Linked DNA regions of Homo sapiens: all the other regions are linked to region 2. Evidence: promoter capture Hi-C in human tissues and cell types (Jung and others, 2019). All regions are on one chromosome and are shown on one strand. The core of a region is centred on a gene start or on the middle of the fragment in contact, and the rest is flanking DNA. Distances in the headings are between cores, read along the strand shown. Region 1 overlaps MYT1L (myelin transcription factor 1 like). Region 2 holds the start of MYT1L (myelin transcription factor 1 like). Region 3 has its middle 38 kb from the start of MYT1L.

Region 1 (2,700 bases), core at 184-2,683, 49 kb after region 2:
CCCTTTTAGACATGAGGAAACTGAGGCAGAGGGAGGTCGGACAGGTAGCCAGAGGTGCACGGACTTCAGAGCTTACTTCCAATCAGAGCCCCATTTTGAGGCTGTAGTTTCCTTTTTCCATAGACGCACATCCTTGGGAATCATTTGTATCCCTTTTGAAATCTGTCTTGGACATAACTGTGTAAATTTTCAGCTGCATGAAAGAGTAGCATTGCCTGACCACGTGTAGGTTTGAGGTCTGAGCAGCCCTTACTGCCTGGGGACTTTGAAGCAGACTCTCAGCTTCTGTGGCCTTCACTTTCTCTTCCAATTATGAGTGGGTGGAATTGAGAAGTGCTACAAATTTAATTTCCAGCAAGACTGAGAAATAAACCAATCTGTTGGACCCAATGTCCTCTATTTGCTACACAACTAATTTTTAATGGTTCAAAAATTATACTTTTCAAGGCATCATCTCTGTACTCTCTTACTTTTGGTGTCAATATCTTTAGAAACTTATCCTCTCAATGTCGTTCTTTGCATTAACGTCAAACTGCCAGAGAGACCAAGTTTTTAAACTTCTATTTTCTTTACATAATTAGTGTATGTCCATTGTAGAAACATTAGAATATTAAAATAATAGATAATATAATTTTTAAAGCACTGGAAATTCAAAAATTCAGTGACAACCACCATTAGTATGTTGGTTTAAAATTCTTCAAGACTGATTTCTTTGACAGTCTTCAAAAAGATTTTAAATTAACATGGGTCAAACTGTGCCGTTTGTTCTTTACTCCTTTTTCCCTTATGCATCGTATGTATCTTTCTGTATGAAGAACTACTTTTTGTGTTGGGGGGGATGGAGTCTGGCTCTGTCACCCAGGCTGGAGTGCAGTGGCACAATCTTGGCTCACCGTAACCTCTCCCTCCGGGGTTCAAGGTATTCTCCTGCCTCAGCCTCCCAAGTGGCTAGGGTTACTGGCACATGCCACCACACCTGGCTAATTTTTCTATTTTTAGTAAAGACGGGGTTTCACCATGTTGGCCAGGCTGGTCTCCAACTCCTGACCTCAAGTGGTCTGCCCACCTCGGTTTCCCAAAGTGCTGGGATTACAGGTGTGAACCACTGTGCCCAGCCTGAAGAACTACTTTTCTGTTACCTTATTTTATTCCGTTACCTCATCTAGCATTCTACTTTATGAATACACTGAAATATACTTCATCAATTCTCTATTGTAATTTCATAAGTTGGATTTTTAAAATTTTGCCTTATAAACATGGTTTTAATAACCATTCTTTACCTAAAACCTTTCACACTGTTAATGATTTTCTTAAGATAAATTCACAGTAGAATTGCTTGACTCAAGACTATATACATTTTGAAGCTTTTGAGAAGGGCATTATCTTTACAATCCTGCTTCATTTTATGTGTGGTCCTATCACTGCATGTTCTCTGCTATTGAAAACACAGCTAACCATCCAGTGTTTGAACGGTCTGCCATTACACATAGCAGTGTCATAAATTCATAAATTCAACCTTAAGAAAAAACTAATCTCATAGCACAAATTTAGTTTTGTAAAGGCTAAAAATGTATTTCAAAATATCTTCTAAATTTTCATAAACTCAGTTAAAAAGCTGACACTTCTGTTCTTTTGTTCATATATTAAATCAATGTATGAAGTGCCTACTACGTGCAATACACTGTGTGAGGCAGTGGTGATATGTAAATGATAGAACATGATCCAGATTTTGAGAAGTCCACCTTTTAGTTGCAGAATCCACGCTTATATTGAGTCTCTGATACATGGTATGAAAAGCATTACAATACATTTACTTTAAAAATAAGATCTCAGTATGAGCAATTTAATATAGCGACCATTATTGTTTCTGATGTGTAACTCTGAGAATTTCGAGATCCACTACCATTAAAGAAAGCTAGGATTGTGTTCGTTATACTAAACGCCAGAGTGCACTACAGAAACATTTCTGCCCCCATGCCACCTACCGCTAAAAAGTAGCCTTTTTATTGCTTCTTGAATATTTCCAGGAACAGATAGCTTACAACTCAACAAGGCAACTCATTCCATTGTTGGATTGTGTCAAGGGTTTGCATATTATTCAGTTTTATAATAGGCACCTGTTGTTTTTACTTTCAGCCTCTGGAGAGATACAGACTATGTCTAATTCAATTCAACTTAATGGATGTATTTTAATGATCTACTATGTTCAGAACATGTTCTAGGTTCTATGGGCTAATTTCTATTTCATATGACAGTATTTTCAATATTTGATTATTGTTTTTCTAAATACACAAGTTAAGTTCACGCCATTCAAGGTAATTGGATCATTAATATAAGTCTGCTAAATCTCTATAAAGCAACACATTTTGGCCTCAGTTGTTGACCACTTACATGAGCTAGTTGGGAAGAATTTTACAATCAATCAGGAAGACACAAGCATTTACTCTTCCCACTTCTGTACATATTACACAACAATTATATTAAAAAGAAAACAAAAGTCATTTGCCCCACACTATTACTAGTTATGACATGAAAAGTCATGCCACGTGTACTAGTTCATTCTCACACTGCCATGAAGAAATACCCGATGATTTATAAAGAAAAGAGGTTTAATTGACTCACAGTTCTGCATGGCTTGGGAGGTCTCAGGAAACTTGCAATCACGGCAGAAGGCAAAGCTGAAGAAAGGCATCTTCTTCA
Region 2 (2,700 bases), core at 172-2,671:
AATATCTAGGATACAGTAACAGGCTGGTTGCAAATGCTCGAAACAGAAATAGGTTTCTTCATAGGCTGTGTTTCAGCATGTCCAACTGTGAGCCTGTGAAGCAGAGCATCGGAGTTCTCTCGAGGTCTGTTGCTTCAGATTTGGTTAGAAATTATTGAATCTGGAGTGTAAAAATCTTGTCTGGGCCTTTTAGGCAGCTTGATTTTAAAACTAGCCCTTCTGCCCCAAGACTTATCAACCGCCCCCCCACCCTGTCCCAAAAGAAAAGCTGAAGTAAGTTCAGTGTTAAAATAATGGTGCTGTCAGGCAGGCAGTCTGCATGTGAGCAGCAGAAAATTAGAAGAATAGAACCATCCATTCTCGTTTCCCCCCGCGACATGCACGCACACATACGTGCACACACACACACACACCACACACACACACACAGACAACACCAGTCAGTGAAGGGGGAAAAGGGTGATACCTTTTTAAAAAATGAAAGGCAGTAAGCCATTATTAGCAAGAGCTATATTGAGCATGCTTGCCAGACAAGCAGCAAAGCTGAGCTCCAGTTCCGCCCAGACATGTGCCTTGCCATTTTCATTTTAATCAGCCTGCTCAGGATGGCTGCTGATTCATTTTGCAGGATGTCCCCCTGGGAGCCAAGGTGGAAGCCTGAGGCGAGCTGCTATTGCATCAATGCAGCACATCAGAGCGAGAGCGCGGAGGCAGAGGGAGGAGAGAAAGCCTTCAGCACCGCATCCCGATTTCAATATGGCTAGTTAGAAGGTCCTGCATGAAACCGAGTCTATTGCAGAAAACATAATGAAAGGAAAGGAAAAGAAAAAAGTCACATTGTCATTTCATTATCCAACTATTCTCTCCCCCAACCCCTTCTTGCCACCAACAGACACACACACGTACACATTTTACAGTGACCATGAAAGATTTCAAGCCACTCTGTGGAAGTGTGTGTGTGTGTGTGTGTGTGTGTGTGTGTGTGTACTATTTACCTGGTAACTAGCTGGGGTGGTATACCTGATTTAGCTGGAGACTTTGATTTGTAGGACTGACAACCTTATTATGCAGTGAGTTTATTATTGATATTATTCTGCTCTCGGTTGCCATGGCCACCTTGTGAGAGACATTCAATTTTCTCTCTTCCATCATCATTATCTATGAGGCCATCTGTTGTGGAAAATGAATTCAGCCTCATTTGCATGACTGATAAGCAATTTTTTTTTTTATCTATTTAACAGAAGGTCATATGCCGGGGATTTGGAGCTTGTGAAAAAAAAATGTGGAAAAAAAAAAAAGCCTAGGAGAGGATGAGTGGGAGCGTGTGCATGGGGGTGTGTGGAAGTCAAACAGATCCCTGAGGCCTGCGAGCCTATCGCGCTGCATTTGTCATTCCTGCCCGGGCGACATTTTTTTTTTCCCTAAGCTACTGCACACTAAACAGTGAGAGAGCTTTTCCCTGCAGTCTTGTTGAAGCACCCCGGGTTTTTTGCTCATTGTTGGTGGGTGCATTTTAATTTTTTCATTCCCTGGACTATGGGTTATGATATCCATACTCACTGAAGACAAAAAGCCACCTTTTCTGCGTCTTGGTGGCATGCATGTGTCTCATCATCCTTTCAAACTTGTGGTGGAACAGGGTTTTCTTCCCTGTCTGTGTATTTTGAGCCAGCACAGTTACCAAAATTGAACTTGTCTTTCGCTTGTGAGCGGTTGTGGTCATTGTGAGGTACGTGATGTTCGTTAGGTTAATTTTTCGGGGAACTTAGTGAGCAGGATGTGTTTTACCGTAGCTCAAGGGCTGAGGCTGCTATTCCATTGTCTGCTCCTTTTTAAAGTTATTTTTACAGCATGGCTGGTAGCTGAAATGTTCCTGGACTGGAGGCTTTGTAATCCACAAAAAAATCTGTCTTTAAACTAAAATGGGTATTAGGTTGCATGACTTAACTGTGATGTTGTTTATTAAGAAAAAAAGAAACAAAAACAAAACGGGGTGCATGTATGGTGTTTGGAGGATAAGAGGATACTGAAACAAAAACTTCCCAGAGACTTTACTGGATTACTTTACATTACAAATGAAGCACATCATTTTATGCAAAGGCAATTAAAATGTTAGCTATTTTGGATGAATTTACCTGATGGTAAGAAGAAAGTTGATTTATATTGTTTAAGTGGAGAAACTCAAATAAAGATTTTTAAATTTAACTTAAATGTTTGAAGTTCATAATAATGAAAGAAAATGTTATTTATAACAGAAATATGTCTTTTTGTAACACCTAAATTAATAAACTAAAAGATTAAACTCTACACTTTAGTTTTAAGATAGATCTGAATAAAGCAAAAATATATATGTAAATATTTATATGAAAGTTAGCTATATAAAATATAGAGAACAGATTTTGAATTTAGTATTAACCATGACAATTTCTTGTACCATCAAAGCTATATAAGCTAAATAATTTCTAAGTTACTTAGAGTAAAACTATTTTATATAAGAGCCTTTTTGTTCAAATGTTTATATTTTCTACTAAACAAAATTAACGTCATAGACCAAAGCATCCCAAAACCACCCTTACTGGCATATGAGGGTCTTTCTAATTGTTCATCTTCATTTAGTGTCATGTAGCTTTAAAAATAATAAAGTCATGTCTCCCATACAGATAAAAATGTAATTATTTTTAAAAGAAAAGAGTTTTATAA
Region 3 (2,700 bases), core at 50-2,549, 38 kb before region 2:
TCCTTCCAGATAATAATATTTGATTTCTGATATTGCAAACAGTTATTTTATTTGATCCAAGTTATAATACAGTGAAGTATGAAAAAATTCTGAAAGATTTGAAAAAGTTTGTGCTACCCATCTGAGTTTTCACGACCTATCAAAAATCAGGAGGTTGTGATGCTGTTTGCCTAGTAATCAGAAGACTACTGTTGACACGGGGCTTACTTTAAACTTCAGGACTCGGTGAAAAGCCTTGTTACTTGCTTAGGACTTTACCCAAATCAAAGGAAAATGAAATTAACATAGGATAGGATATGTTCCCACAAAAGCTGCACATGGACATTTAAGGCAGCTTTGTTCATAATTTCTAAAACTTAGAAGCAACCAAGACGTCCTTCAGTAGGTGAATGGATAAACAAACTGTGATGCATCCAGACAAGGCAATATTATTCAGCAGTAAAATGAAATAAGCTGTCGAGCCATGAAAAAACATGGAGGATCCTAAGATGCGTATTACCAAGTGAAAGAAGCCCAACTAAGAAAGCTACAATACTATCTCATTCCAACTATACAGTATTGTGGGAAAGGCAAAACTGTGGAGACAGTAAAACACTCAGTGTTTCTTTAGGGTTGGGTTAACGGCTAAGAATTTTTAGGGCAGTGAAAATATTCAGTATGACACTACAATGGTGGATACATGTATTAGTCTGTTCTCATGTTGCTAATAAAGACATACCCAAGACTGGGTAATTTATAAAGGAAAGAGGTTTAAGGGACCCACAGTTCCACATGGTTGGGGAGGCCTCACAAACGTGGTGGGAGGCGAATGAGGAGCAAAGACATCTTACATGGCAACAGGAGAGTGCAGGGAGGCTCCCCTTTATAAAACCATCAGATCTTGTGAGACTTATTCACTACCACAAGAACAGCATGGTAAAGACCTGCCCCCATGATTCAGTTACCTCCCACTGGGTCCCTTCCATGACACATGGGAATTATGGGAGCTACAATTCAATATGAGATTTGGGTAGGGACACAACCAAACATGTCAGTACATGTCACCATACATTTGTCTAAACCCACAGAATGTACAACACCAAGAATGAACCCTAAAGTGAACTTGGGACTCAGTCAATTTGGGTTCATTGATAGCAACAAGTGAGCCTTCTTGGTGGGACACGTTGATAATGGGGAGGGGATGAGAGTATATGGGTTATATCTGTATCTGCTTCTCAATTTTGCTCTGAACCTAAAACTACTCTAAAAAATAAAGTTTTTTTAATAAAAAATAGGATTTCTTTTTGGAGGGTTGCTTCTAATAGCCTACTGCCAATTGTGCATGCAAGATGATTGAAAATATGGCAGGTGACATTGAGCTGTAAAGTGCACCAGATGATATGGTTTTGCTTTCCCTTTATATGAGTGACAGACCCAACGTTGATAGGTAAAATTATTTAAGTAATTTGCAGACTAGTCTGAATCACATACATCCCAGAAGCATGAAAATTTCGTTATGGCAGTAATGAGAATTTCTTTGCCAGTGAGTACCTACTTCCTACATAAAGTCAAGCCACATACAGTATTGTTATGTGTGTGTGTGAGAGAGAGAGAGAAAGACAGAGACGGAGAGAGAGAGAGAGAGAAAAAGTTCTCTTTTGTCTGACTTCCTTTTGCATGTATTATTAGCACAGTGTCTTTCTTTATGAGAAGTTCAATGATTGAAGGTGTTTATCATCCCATATTCCCCTGGCCACCTGTCCCATCTCCGTACTGCAGGTCTACTACCCACTTCCCATTCCTTTGTCGTTCTCTCTTTTCTTTTTGCCCTTTGGATTTTCCAGATGGCATGTCTAGCACTTCCTTTAGTATTTTAAGCGGACCCTCGCTTGCAGCATTGCTTCCTAGTGCACTGTCTTTTATAACAGAGTTAAAAATAGTTTAAAAGCGGAGTAGAAGCCACAGGATTGGGCCAAAGCCAAAGCCTCTAAACTCACGGGAGCTCAGTTGTTGCTTTAAATTTTGATGTTCATGTTTGTATATGACTCAGACCTCTGTGAAATGACAAGTCTTGAGTTGAACCCCCTAATAATAAGCACAAGATAGATCTTGGTGCATAAACCTGGTAAGCTTCATTCACTCTCAAGCCTAAAATCCAAAAGGTCCATCGCAGCCCAGACATCCTGTCTATAACTTTTTGTCTGTAATTACTTAGGGATTTTTTTGTTTGTTTTCTTCTTTCCTATGGTCTATGATCACCAAGTCAGCTGATACTTAACAAATAGTTTGATGTAGAAATTGACAATTTTATTCACAAAAGTTTTGTGAAGGGAAGTAGTTTTGCTTCCCTCTCTTCCCCTATAATTACTTCTTCCCAATAATTTTTTGATTTTTTTATAAACAAAAAACTACATGATCTAAAAGCCCTGCCCTTGTTTGTTTGTTTATTTGTTTTGCTTTTGTCTGTACTGGTTTGATCTAGAAACAGCAGGTTCTGGGAGACACCAACACAACTCTAGCATCAATTGATTTATGTGACTATACCCCATTACAGCCTTCCTATTTATAGACTGACCATTGTACTATTTTTCTTTTGTTACGGTACCATTAATTTTGGTCAATAATTGTGAATATTCTTAAATATACTTTATTTTTCTAAGGTGGTTTTCACAAAGTTACTCTTTTTTTTTTTCCTATATGAACTGGCACAACTAGAGTGTA

The links. The method cuts DNA at HindIII sites, captures the fragments that hold promoters and counts their contacts. A contact is called where the count stands out against the background at its distance.
Region 1: a fragment that was not itself captured here is called in contact with the fragment with the promoter of MYT1L in region 2 in 3 of the 25 tissues and cell types used here (bladder, pancreas and small bowel).
Region 3: a contact is called between a fragment that was not itself captured here and the fragment with the promoter of MYT1L in region 2, in 1 of the 25 tissues and cell types used here (adrenal gland).

Annotation. Positions count from the first base shown.
Region 1 is chr2:2,281,210-2,283,909 of GRCh38, reverse strand. The region is part of intron 2 of MYT1L (myelin transcription factor 1 like); the gene reads left to right. Among named protein-coding and RNA genes, the nearest start is that of MYT1L-AS1, 37 kb to the left of the region's middle. The HindIII fragment of the contact is 6,870 bases long and covers 1-2,700 here.
Region 2 is chr2:2,329,996-2,332,695 of GRCh38, reverse strand. MYT1L (myelin transcription factor 1 like) reads left to right here and starts at 1,421. Exons shown (of 25, transcript NM_001303052.2): 1 at 1,421-1,729. The HindIII fragment of the contact is 11,173 bases long and covers 1-2,700 here.
Region 3 is chr2:2,367,833-2,370,532 of GRCh38, reverse strand. No RefSeq gene overlaps it. Among named protein-coding and RNA genes, the nearest start is that of MYT1L, 38 kb to the right of the region's middle. The HindIII fragment of the contact is 5,646 bases long and covers 1-2,700 here.